Linked DNA regions of Homo sapiens: region 2 is linked to region 1. The links are contacts of gene promoters, found by promoter capture Hi-C in blood cells and fetal thymus (Javierre and others, 2016). All regions are on one chromosome and are shown on one strand. Each heading gives the region's core, a stretch centred on a gene start or on the middle of the fragment in contact. The rest is flanking DNA. Distances are from core to core; before and after follow the strand shown. Region 1 holds the start of SPESP1 (sperm equatorial segment protein 1). Region 2 overlaps CORO2B (coronin 2B).

Evidence for each region. The method cuts DNA at HindIII sites, captures the fragments that hold promoters and counts their contacts. A CHiCAGO score of 5 or more calls a contact.
Region 2: a contact is called between a fragment that was not itself captured here and the fragment with the promoter of SPESP1 in region 1, in 2 of 17 cell types (naive B cells and fetal thymus). The highest score is 6.0, in naive B cells.

Annotation. Positions count from the first base shown.
Region 1 is chr15:68,927,965-68,934,222 of GRCh38, forward strand. SPESP1 (sperm equatorial segment protein 1) reads left to right here and starts at 2,561. Exons shown (of 2, transcript NM_145658.4): 1 at 2,561-2,753. The coding sequence starts at 2,690. It overlaps SPESP1-NOX5 (SPESP1-NOX5 readthrough), which reads left to right and starts at 2,561. Exons shown (of 17, transcript NR_033672.2): 1 at 2,561-2,753. The HindIII fragment of the contact is 10,282 bases long and covers 1-5,300 here.
Region 2 is chr15:68,677,800-68,684,057 of GRCh38, forward strand. The region is part of intron 2 of CORO2B (coronin 2B); the gene reads left to right. Among named protein-coding and RNA genes, the nearest start is that of CORO2B, 100 kb to the left of the region's middle. The HindIII fragment of the contact is 166 bases long and covers 2,952-3,117 here.

The sequences.
Region 1 (6,258 bases), core at 1,311-3,810:
TCTTACAGTTTCTGTGAGTCAGGAATCTAAGCGTGGCTTAGCTGGGTGCCTCCATCTCTGGGTTTCTCAGGCAGCTACAATCAAGATGTCAGCCGGGCTGTGGTCAACTCCAGGCTCACCTGGGGAGAATCTATTACCAAGTTCACTCACCTGATTGTTGTCAGGCCTCAGGTCCTTACTGGCTGTTGGCTGGAGACATTGGTTCCTCAACATGTGTCCGGAATTGGTGGGTTCTTGGTCTAACTTAAAGAATGAAGCCGTGGATCCTCGTGGTGAGTGTCACAGTTCTTAAAGGCAGCATGTCCGGAATTTGTTCCTTCTGATGTTCGGATGTGTTTGGAGTTTCTTCCTTCTGGTGGATTCGTGGTCTAGCTGGACCAGGAGTGAAGCTGTAGACCCTCATGGTGAGTGTTACAGCTCTTATGGTGGCCCATCTGAGTTGTTCATTCATCCCGGTGGGTTCGTGGTCTCACTGGCTTCAGGAGTGAAGCGGCAGACCTTCGCAGCGAGTGTTACAGCTTATAAAGGCAGTGTGGGCCCAGAGTAAACAGCAGCAAGAGTTATTGCAAAAAGCGAAAGAACAAACCTTCCACACGACAGAAAGAGACTCCATAGGGTTACTACTGCTGGCTCGGGCAGCCTGCTTTTATTCCCTTATCTGGCCCCACCCACATCCTGCTGATTGGTTCACTTTACAGAGAGCTGATTGGTCCGTTTTGACAGGGTGCTGATTGGTGCATTTACAATCCCTGAGCTAGACACAAAAGTTCTCCAAGTCCCCACTAGATTAGCTAGACACGGGGTGCTGATTGGTGCATTTACAAACCTTGAGCTAGACACAGAGTGCCCATTGGTGCATTCACAATCCCTTAGCTAGACATAAAGGTTCTCCAAGTCCCCACCAGACTCAGGAGCCCAGCTGGCTTCACCCAGTGGATCCCACACCCAGGCGCAGGTGGAGCTGCCTGCCAGTCCCCGGCCCTGCGCCCGCACTCCTCAGCCCTTGGGCGGTCGATGGGACTGGGCGCCGTGGAGCAGGGAGCGGCGCTCCTCAGGGAGGCTCAGGCATGGCAGGCTGCAGGTCCCGAGCCCTGCCCTGCGGGGAGGCAGCTAAGGCCTGGCGAGAAATCGAGCACAGCAGCTCCTGGCCCAGGTGCTAAGCTCCCCCCAACTGCCCGTGGCCAGCGGGGACGGCCGGCCGCGCTGAGTGCCGGGCCCACCGAGCCCGCCGAGCCCACGCCCACCCGGAACTCGGGCTGGCCCGCAAGCGCCGTGCGCAGTCTCAGTTTCCGCCGGCGCCTCTAGTCTTGCTTCCCTCCAGTCCATTCTTCATGCTACAGGAAGAGTGAGTTTTCTGGAATACAAATCTAATCACAACCGTTCCCAGCTCAAAACCTAGCAGTACTCTAGTACTGGTGCCTCAGACTAAAATCCAAGCCCCTTGCTTCCTGAGGCAGAGATGAGTGTACGTGAATTTTTAAAAATAACCATACAGAAAAACAGATTCTTTGGGATGTGCAGTTCTGCGAATTTTTATTTTTATTTATTTTTTTGAGGTGGAGTCTTGCTCTGTCGCCCAGGCTGGAGTGCAGTGGCACGATCTCGGCTCACTGCAACCTCTGCTTCCCGGGTTCAAGTGATTCTCCTGCCTCAGTCTCCCAAGTAGCTGGGACTACAGGCGTGTGCCACCACCCACGCCTGGCTAATTTTGTATTTTTAGTAGCCACGAAGTTTCACTATGTTGGTCAGGCTGGTCTCGAACTCCTGACCTCAGGTGGTCCGCCCACCTCGGCCTCCCAAAGTGCTGGGATTACAGGAGTGAGCCACCGTGCCCGGCCTTCTGTGAATTTTAACACATGTATAGATTCTTGTGGCCACTGCCATCTATTAGTCCCCAAAACAACCTCATGCTATCCTTTCATAGTCGTACTCTCCCTCATCCCTACCCCTATCTTTTTAAGAAGGTCAAAGAAATGGAATGTGATCTTTTGAAAAACAAAAACACCCAAGCCCCTTAGGGCGTTTTTAATGCCCTTGCCTACCTCTCCTCCCTGTCCTCCAACAACTGCCCTCCCAAGCCCCACAATGCAACTCGCCGGAACTATGCTCAGTTCTTGGGGTGCTCCAAGCTGTCCTCCACTTAGCCAAGCTCCCCACCCGCTTCCGGGGGTGGGTTTCCACTGTGCACAACAGTACCTAGCGCTTCCCCCACTACAGCCCCCTTTCACGCTGTGGTAATTGCCAGGTTATCTGCCTCTCCCATTACAGTTCCTTCCTCACAGGGACCGCGTTTAAACCACGGCGGTATCCCTACCGCGCAGGATGGGCCGAGCCCCGCACGCCCCGAGGCAGCACCCCGCACGCAGTAGCCGGGCGTCGAGGCGTTCCCAGCCCACACCAGGCGCGGACCTACGAAGGCGGAGCGAGCATGCGCACTAGGAAGGGGCGGGGCGGGGCGCGCGCGATCCCCCGCCCCCTGCACGCGGTCCCAGGAGGGGCGGGCCTTGGCCGCTCGCTCTCCCCTCCCCCATGCCGCTGCGCTTGCGCGCTGGGGACAACCGTTGCTGGGTGTCCCAGGGCCTGAGGCAGGACGGTACTCCGCTGACACCTTCCCTTTCGGCCTTGAGGTTCCCAGCCTGGTGGCCCCAGGACGTTCCGGTCGCATGGCAGAGTGCTACGGACGACGCCTATGAAGCCCTTAGTCCTTCTAGTTGCGCTTTTGCTATGGCCTTCGTCTGTGCCGGCTTATCCGAGTGAGTGACGGGCCTGAGGAGGCAGCGGACCGGGGACACCCTGGGGGAACTTCCCGAGCTCCGCGACCTCGAAGCCTGGCCCTTCCTTCTCCCTGGTCCTACATGCCTCCCTCCCCCACTGTCCGGGGTCCTGGCCTCGACGCCGAGGGGTGTCCCTCTCCTCTCCTGGTCAGGGAACGCAGCAACTGAGGCGGCGCGGCCCAGATGAGACGGGAAGCGCCTGCGGGCCGTGGGCGCGGGTGGAACCCCCTCACCTCACCGGAGGCCTTCCTCTGCCCACCCGATCCTTCCCCAGCCATTGGGCGTGTGACCGTGCAGGGGTCGTGTGACAGCTGCTGGCCAGCTAGGAATGATTTTTACATTTTCTTCCTTTTTTTTTAATTATTATACTTTAAGTTCTAGGGTACATGTGCACAGCGTGCAGGTTTGTTACATATGTATCCATGTGCCATATTGGTGTGCTGCACCCATAACTTGTCATTTACATTAGGTATATCTCCTAATGCTATCCCTCCCCCCTCCCCCCACCCCACGGCAGGCCCTGGTGTGTGATGTTCTATTTTTGCATTTTCAAAGTAAATATGAAATGTACTCTTTCATGACTTGTGGAAAAGCATGACGCTCACATTTCATTGTTCGTGAATAAAGTTTTACTGGCACACCACCACGCTCATTCCTTTACGTATTGCCCATGGCTGCTTTCCCACGTTAGAACAACGGGGTTAAGTGGTTGCCACACAGTCTGGTCTGCAAAGACTGAAGTATTTACTCTCTGGCCCTGTACAGAAAAAAAGGTTGACCCGTACGGTAAAATTTGGAGAGCATGTGGATTGTGGGTCGCGGTCTGGGACACTCACCTGAGGATGCGCTCCCAGAGAGCATGCTTGCGCACACGGCATTCAAAGCCTTAGTTAAGCAGGATTATAACTTAAGACCTGCCAAGGAGCAATTTTTGTCCCTCCCCGAAAGCTGAAAACCAATAAGGTCAAATTCAGGGGTGCTAAGACTTTACTATATTAACAATATCATGTGGGCACCTTAAGGCACTTAGTATTTAAGTCAGGTAGGTGAGGCTTCCCCATTTAGTCTAACTGTAGTTCATTGTGGCATTTAGTAATGTTGGAGTTTGGTTTCACTTAAATCAATAAATACAATTTAACAGGTGTAAAAAAAGCGCTATCGTGCATGCTGATTATGCAAATCTATTTTTCAGAATTGCTAAACGATCTTAGTTAAAAATCAAATTTAAAAACTGAAAATACAACACAATCTAAATTATGAATAGTAATGGGAAAAGTTCTAGATGAAGTTCTAGGTAACTAAAGTTAGCTCTTTAAATACTAGCATTTATGATTTGTAGCTGTTTTTAATAAAAAGTTTTGTAAAATTTTTCTTCCTTGACATAGAGGACCAGAACATAATGAAGATGCTACTATCTTTTCTTGATGTCTGATGATCATTATTACTAACACCAGTTATTGCATTTTGGTAGTTGTAGATCAGCAAGTCACAAGTGACTAACATATATGGAGACTTTAACTGAAGTGACTTTAACACTGTCACACAGTACACTCTGGGACTGCTAGGTAGGAGTCCCTGGACACCCACTTAACTCAGTGCAGTCTCTTGCCTAACACCATAATTTTCCCCTCCCCCTCCCCTTCCCTTTTCCCCCCCTTTTTTTTTTGCCTGAGACAGGGTCTCACTCTCTAGCTCAGACTAGAGTGCAGTGGCCCGATCTCGGCTCACCGCAACCTCTGCCTCCCAGGCTCGAGGGATTCTCCCACCTCAGCCTCCTGAGTAGCTGGGATTATAGGCGCACGCCACTACCGCCTGGCTAATTTTTGTATTTCTAGTAGAGACGGGGTTTCACCATGTTGGCCAGGCTGGTCTCGAGCTCCTGACCTCAAATGATCCATCCGCCTCGGCCTTGCAAAGTGCTGGGATTACAGGCTTGAGCCACTGTGCCCAGCCAGCCTGTTGTCTTTCTTAGCACCCTATTCCCTAATCTTTCTTGGGAAGAAAGAAAAGGGTTGTAGGAAATGAAAAGACGCTTCCCAGAAAAAAGGAGTGATTTTGTGTTGAATATATAGATGTTATAAGACATAAGGAAACTATATACAGGTTGTAATCATAGAAGATGTCTTGGAATATGTAATTACCTTTCTTCTACAGAAGTGGATTAAGGAATATATAGAGCAGGCAGTGGTACATGGCTGCTTTCTCTGTATCTGTCTCTCTACTTTTTCTCTAATTTTAATTTTGTTTTTAAAATAAGTATACCAAAATGCGTATATCATTGAGCTTGATGTAAATCAGCTATGCATTCTTTTATATGGCCACTATTCAAACAATTGTTGGCGAGATGCAAAAGATAAGGTACATAGGTTTTTATAATGAAAAGTGCAGCTTTGACACATTTTTTCTAGACTACTAGACAGTTTTGAGGTTATTACGCAAACATCACGGGTGTATTAAGTAATTGCATTTATTGAAAACCTCAGTACTTCTTGTATCTGCCTATACCTTTCTAACAGGCCCAATCCAAGCTTAGCTAGTATTTGTTTAATCTAAATTCAGTTAGACATAAATGCAGCTTGGGTATACAGAAGTCGGCACTCCTTTACATACACACACACACATCCTGATGGTGCTGGAGAAACAACGTTTTACTATATAAAATTTTTATACATTCAGTTTCCTCTACCTGATTTTTCCATAGTTTTAAATACTTTGCCATTTTTAAATTTTTGAATGGGAAAGTATTTAATGTATTCCCTCTTTAATGTATTTGCACTGTGCAACTTACTTTACTTTTTAATGAGAATTCTTTTTGCTTTAAAAAAAAAAAAATGCACAGGCCGGGCACGGTGTCTTACACCTGTAATCCCAGCACTTTGGGAGGCTGAGGCGGGCAGATCACCTGAGCCCAGAAATTCAAGACCAGGCTGGGCAACATGGCGAAACCCCGTCTTTACAAAAAATACAAAAATTAGCCAGATGTGGTGGGGCAGGCCTGTAGTCCCAGCTATTCGGGAGGCTGAGGTGGGAGGATCACCTGAGCCCAGGAGGTAGAGGTTGCAGTGAGCTGAGATGGCGCCACTGCATTCCAGCCTGGCTGACAGAGTGAGACCTTGTCTCAAAAAAAAAAAAAAGCACAGTAACTTCTAAAGTAATATTAACATAATAGTTACATATTTAAATAATATCAACTACTATTAAAATTATATAATTGGCCTTTTTAAATTTTAAGTCATCAAATATTCATGGGCTGGCAGTGCAAACTAATTAAAATTAAAGTGTGTTAATATTAATTTAATATTAATATATGTTAATTTTTAAATGATTCAAACTTTGCATAATAAGTATAAATAAAATTAAAATATTAATTTTGGGGTATCTCCCAAATAAATTATTTCCTCTAGATCATCTCTTGGTATAGACTAGGAAAAATAGGGTTAGTCTAGGATTACAAAAGCTCTTATTTCTAGATTGGTATTATAAG
Region 2 (6,258 bases), core at 1,785-4,284, 250 kb before region 1:
ATGTCTGTTCCTGCCTTCACCCTCTCCTTCACCATAGCTGGGTGGCCAAGTCCCCTCTACTGTGTCAAGAACAGGTCCTGATCCCCTGGTTCAGCCAGCCACAGGCTCTCTGCAGCCATGGAAAAACATGAACGTTGGCTGGATTGAGGGTTTCCTGTTATTTCATGAAAATCTCCTGCCTCTCGGAGGCCTGGTGGGGCCCAGCCCCCTGGCCCAGGAGGCTGCCTTGCCCCTCCATAATTAACAGGAGCTCTCCTTTCCCCTGCAAGGTCTGTTGCTTCCTGACAAAGGCCTAACATGCACTTGACTTTCCCCCCAGATGACTTGTACAGCACCCGTGCCACTGGCTGCTGGCTGTTCCTACAACACTGGCGGGGTTAGGACCTTTCCCACTGAGTCTGGGAGGACAGCAGACCCAGGTCCTGTTGTCAGAGAAGGAGTCAGGCAGAACAGCCTAGCACTCCATAGTAAGAGCAGGGGGAGGAGGAGGAGGAATTCCCCAATTTCTGTGTCAGTGTGAGCCCTTTCTCCCCTCCCTCACACTGAGCCCCCAGAAGGGTGCCCCAGGCCTGTCGGGCAATAACAGAGAAAAGACAGCAGGCGGTGGTTCACACCTGTAATCCCAACACTTTGGGAGGCCGACTTGGGCAGATCACCTGAGGTCAGGAGTTCAAGACCAGCCTGGCCAACATGGTGAAACCCCATCTCTACTAAAAATACAAAAATTAGCCAGGTGAGGTGGTGGGTGCCTGTTATCCCAGCTACTCAGTGGACTGAGGCAGGAGAATCATTTGAACCCAGGAGACAGAGGTTGCAGTGAGCTGAGATTGTGCCACTGTACTCCAGCCTGGGCAAAAGAGCGAGACTCCACTTCAAAAAAGAAAAAAGAAAACAAAAGAAGGCAGCTGAGCGTGTCCAGGGATCAGCAGGTGGCATAGCCAGCACCAGGCTCAGAAGAGCTGCCCACACCATGTCCCCTGGGAGCCCCAAACTCAGGCACCACACACCCAAACTCCAGCCTTCATTGCCGGTCCTCCAGTGCTCAGATAGGGAAGAACTAGAGTAGAAAATGTAGCCCCAGGTTACTGGACAGATAGTGGATCTGGCTAGAGGCCAGGGGACCGCTGTACTCAGGGTGTGTTCCCCTCCCTGCCCCTCCAGCAGCCCAACTTGGCTTGACAGTAGGACCCAGTCCCTGACCTGGCCCTCCGAGCTGGTCAGGCAGAGTGAGGGCCTTCCCAGAAATATCACCTGCTTCTCACTCGTGGATGAGTTCAGTAGATATTTATTGAGACTCTACTATGGGCCTGGCACCGTGCTGGGTGTTGGGATACAGTAGTGACTAAAACAGACAGAATGTGGTGGAAGTGACATCCAAGGGAATCATCCCATCTTATTCATCTCTAGGTGGCCAGCTCCAGGCCCAGGGAGGGTTCTTGTCTGTGTTTGGTGAGCTGGGTGGAGATTCAACATATAACCCCAGACTGGCAGAGCTGGAAGGGCCCTGATGGTTCAGGTCCACTGTGCAGACACTTTCTGAGCACATGCACCGGGGCAGCTGGCCATGCTAGGCCTGTACAAAGATGGGTTAGACACATACCCCACCCATGGAAAGCTCACCCTTGGTGAGGGTGACAGCCATGACAGCCATTAAGCACAGTACAAAGGAGGGTCTGGTCCGAGGGGCTGTGCAGAGCACAGAGGCAGAGGGAGGAAGCTAACCTGCATTTTGCAGATGATAATAATAACTACCATTTATCGAGTGCTTCTGTGGTGCCAGGCCCCGTGCCCAGTGAGTTTGTATTTATTGGCTCATGTGGAAACTGAAGCCCTGGGAGGAAGGAACTTGCTCAGTCAGTCATTAGCGTGAGCTGAGCCAAAGTAGACCCTGACTTCTAGGGGTTCGGAGTGCAATATGTTCCTTCTCCCACTACCCCAGCCCCTGAGGATCAACCAACCTCCACAGATGCAGCAGAGAGAAAGCTTGGGATGGGGAGGGACTGGTCATCTCAGCATGGGGCTGTTCACTTACAATGTAAAGGACATTTTCAAGGCCATAGATTCCCAGGGTCATTACCTCGGAGGTGGTGCATCTCCTTCTCTGGCCCCTTACATATCCCTGATGGAGCAAGGCTGAAGTTCTGAGCCAGAGGTCCCCTGCCCTGCCCACAGATTCCATGACTTCCATGGGGACAGTGATGGCCCAGGGCTGAGTCTCTATGGTGTCTGGGCAGGGAAGATGGTGGGCACTGGGCCCCCGCAGAGTGTGCACGCTCTTGGTGGATGGCGGTTCTCTCGGTGGCTATCCCTAAGAGGCAAGGCAGAGTGGCCCAGCCTGGGAGCATGTGGATGGTGCCATGTGACTCACTCCCACTTCAATGACAACAGTATCTTTGCAGCTGGCAGCATGTGGCTGGGGGAGTCATTTGATCCTGAATATAGACTGGCATTGTGTTTGAGACCAGAGGGTGTAAGAAGCATGTCTGTACCACTGAGGTTTCATTCATGTCTCACACTCTGCTGGAAACCCTCCATGATTATCTCATTTAAGATGAAAGTGTGGATAATCTCTTGGGAGGGCAACAAACACCCGTGAAATAAAGCAAACAACGCAAGACAATGCTAAATGGAGAAGCAGGACAGTGTCATGGTTAGGCCCAGAGCACAACAGAAGGCTCTGCACCATGCAAATGGTACCCCCTTGAGTTGTGCAGTGTACAGTCCATGCAACTGTACAGGGGATCCTGATTAGGTCCACCGTCTATGGCATCATTAATTCAACACAATTTGGTGAGAGCTTACCATTTGTGTCCAGCACGATTCCAGACACTGGGGTTATAGCAGAGGACAAGACAGAGCACCACCCTGCATGGAGCTTACATTCTAATTTGAAGGTCAGAAAGACTAAGGGTTGCATCCTGGCTTTGCCGCTGTGTTAGTTAATCTCACTAAGCTTCAGTTTCCTCATCTGCAAAATGGACACAATGACCTGTACTTCGTAAGGTTATTGTGCTAAAAAATTGAAATAACACTTGGCTTCAGGTCTGACCCATGGGAAGCCCTCAGTAAATGACAGCCAGCATGATCACAAATGCTGTGGGAAGAAGGGCTTAGAAAAGCTTAGGGAAAAGGGGCCGGGCGCGGTGGCTCACGCCTGTAATACCAGCACTTTGGGAGGCTGAGGTAGGCAGATCGCCTGAGGTCAAGAGTTCTAGACCAGCCTGGCCAACATGGTGAAACCCTGTCTCTACAAAAATACAAAAATTAGCCGGGCATGATGGCAGGTGCCTGTAATCCCAGCTACTCGCGAACCTGAGGCAGGAGAATCGCTTGAACCCAGAAGGAGGAGGTTGCAGTGAGCTGAGATCGTGCCATTGCACTCTAGCCTGGGCGAGAGAGCAAGATCTCCCTCCATCTCAAAAAAAAATTTTTTTTTGGAAAGAAAAGCTGAGGGAAAAGGAAGACCACAAGATGTGAAGTGCACTAAATCGTCTCAGTGGGAGCAGGAGTTGGGGCGTCTCTTGAGGGGTGCAGAAGCCCAGAGGAGCAGGCCTTTCTAAAGACCGTGTCACAAGGAATGCAGGGAGGGGGCCAGTGAGGAGCCCCCTGATTTGGGGGCCATATTTTCCCAAACCAAGGGTTAGGACACCCATGATCTGGCAGAGAAGTTCTGTGTTTCTGTCAGAGAAGAAGTCTGGGAAAAGGTGGTCATCCAAATATTGGGATTGGGGGAGATAATCACCATTTTCATAGGACCTGAGACATCACATTTAAAATTGGGTCTGTCACACTTGAGAAGTGTGACCCCTGTAGGGTTGAGCAAACCAAAGAATAAGGTTAGAGGGCAGTTGGGGGTGGGAACAGGGTGTGCGTGCCCCTCGAGGGCCAGGCAGGTAAGTCAGATCTGATAAGACAGAGAAAGGGGAGCTGACTAAGTCAGGATTCCTGCTGCACACTGGCTGAGTGGCCCAAATCTCTGTCTCTAGGTCTCAGTTTCTGTCTCTGAAAAGCGGAGACATTGTTGAGGAGCAGAGATAACACAGATGTAGTTATCTGTTGCTAGCAACAGAAATCACCCCCAACCCCAGTCCTCTTATGCAGAAAGGGTTTAGGGGCTTCATAGATTTAAAGGGCTAGAGCTGGGACAGTGGAGAGCCAGACTTGGAACCAGATCAGCACCAAGACAGCTCCGGAGGGCCCAGTCCCAGCCCACCCTGGGTAGGAGTCTGATTGGCCAAACCCAGTCCCATGCCCCGTCCCTGGATAGCAGAGGACCCTGGGTAGGAGGAACCCCTGCTTCAGCTTTCATGGTAGGGCACTGCATCCCACCAGGACAGCCCACAGAGGGAGAGTCCTCCAAATCAGGAAGGGGGCTTGGATGCCCAACTGCCAAAAAATCCTGCAGATAGTTATGTATGCCATGGAAGATTCTGGAAGAGTTGCACAAGGAAAGTAATAATTATAGAAAGCCAATCTTGCTCTGGAGTTCGAGAAGAGACCAGCACCGTGGAGACCAATTAGAAGACTGGAGTGCCTCAGGAAGGCTATGGGCAGGGTGCACCTGGAGAGGAAGGAGCAGATGTAAAGGCGTTTGTGGGGATTAACCCATCAGAGGCCTCTGGGAATCCTCTCTGACTACAGAGAGGTACAGGGAGTCTCAGAGGCTTAGCAAGGGGCTCAGGATGTTTACAGCTGTCAGGGCTCTAAGAGATCACATGGCCGCAGATTGACATTCTCTGATCGACTGGTAGGGACTCCCTAGATGCTGTGCTGAGGACTGCTGGGCTCAGGCAGGACTCAGTGAGCGATTGGTAATGCCTGTTATAGATAGAGAAACCCCAGGAGGGGCAAGGATACCATGTTTATTATCCCTGCCCCCCAAAAATGCCTCACTTTTCGGAGGGAGAGACTGAGACCTAGAGAGACAGAGATTCAGGCCACTCAGCCAGTGTGCAGCAGAGCTGAGATGAAAACCCAGGTCCCCTGAATCCCAGAGTGCTGCCCTGCTGCTGTAGCAGTGCTTTAGTAATGCTCCCCAAATCCCAGGTGGGCTGGGCAAAAATCACAACTCAAAATGAGTTTCCTTTCACACTACAGGAGAGGTGTGTGGAATTGGGGTGTTACAGGAAGGGCACCTGGTGGGAGAGTCCTCTTTTCCCTCCTCGTTCCTTGGGCCAAATGGCGAACAGAAGGAGGGGTTTTTATAATTTTGGCAGCGGCCCATGCACACAGGAGAAGTTCTGGTGGGTCCTCTATTGAGAGGGCCCCTGGTATGGCAGAAACCCAGGCCTCTGGGCCAAAAAGCGAAGGGCAGACTTAGGAACCTGCTCCTGACCTTGACGGAGCTCCACCCGCCCAGGGTCCTCCATGCCTATATCTCTCTCTAGGCCACCCCCAGTTGGGATAGATTCCTCTAGGGAGGGGTTCCTGATGTTCAGGAAGGCCTCTGGTGGGGAGCCTGAAGGACGAAGGCCTGTTTGGGGTCCAGCCATGGGAAGATACTGAAGACCCCAGAGCTGACTCTCTTGTTGGTCCAGACCCCGCGTCCCCAGCACTCCCACCTGCTTGGAGAGCATGGCTCTGTGGCGGGGGAGGAGAAAGCCAATGCTAGTGATGACAGCCTCGAGATGGTGCAAGCACTGTCCTTTTCTTTTGATTTTCTGCCTAAACCAGAAATGTGCTTTTTCCACAATTTGCATAGATGCTGTCATGTAACTTTTTTTTGCCACTGCTCGCATTTCCAACAGTTACAGTTTTGGTGCACCACCCCTCCCCCCACTGTAGGATATTGAGACATCATGGTGGGACTGGATATTGGGAGCCTCACCTTCCCTCTGCAGTATCCCTACCCATCACATTTAAGGCCTCGAATGCTGGGAAGCAGGGATGTCACCATCTCAGGACACACCTGCCTCACCTCCCTCCCTGCAGAGCATGTTCTACCTCTCGGCAAGAGAGTGTGGCCTTGGTCAAGACCACTGTCATCATGGTGCTCACAGCCTGGTGGCAGGGATGAACCAGGAACCAAAGGTCCCTCAGTGAGGAAGGAGCATTGGAGGTGGAGGTGTATAACCATGGGCATGGCATGGGCAGTAGACTGAGGGAGAGTGTCAAGGCAGGACTGTGCTGGGATGACAACAGCTCTGATGCCTGGATAAGGAGTTTGGCTTATAAGGTCTAGATAGTAGGGACCCATTGAAGATTTTGGAGCTGGGGAGTTATTTCATCAGAGCTGCATCCTAGGAAAATTAGGCAACA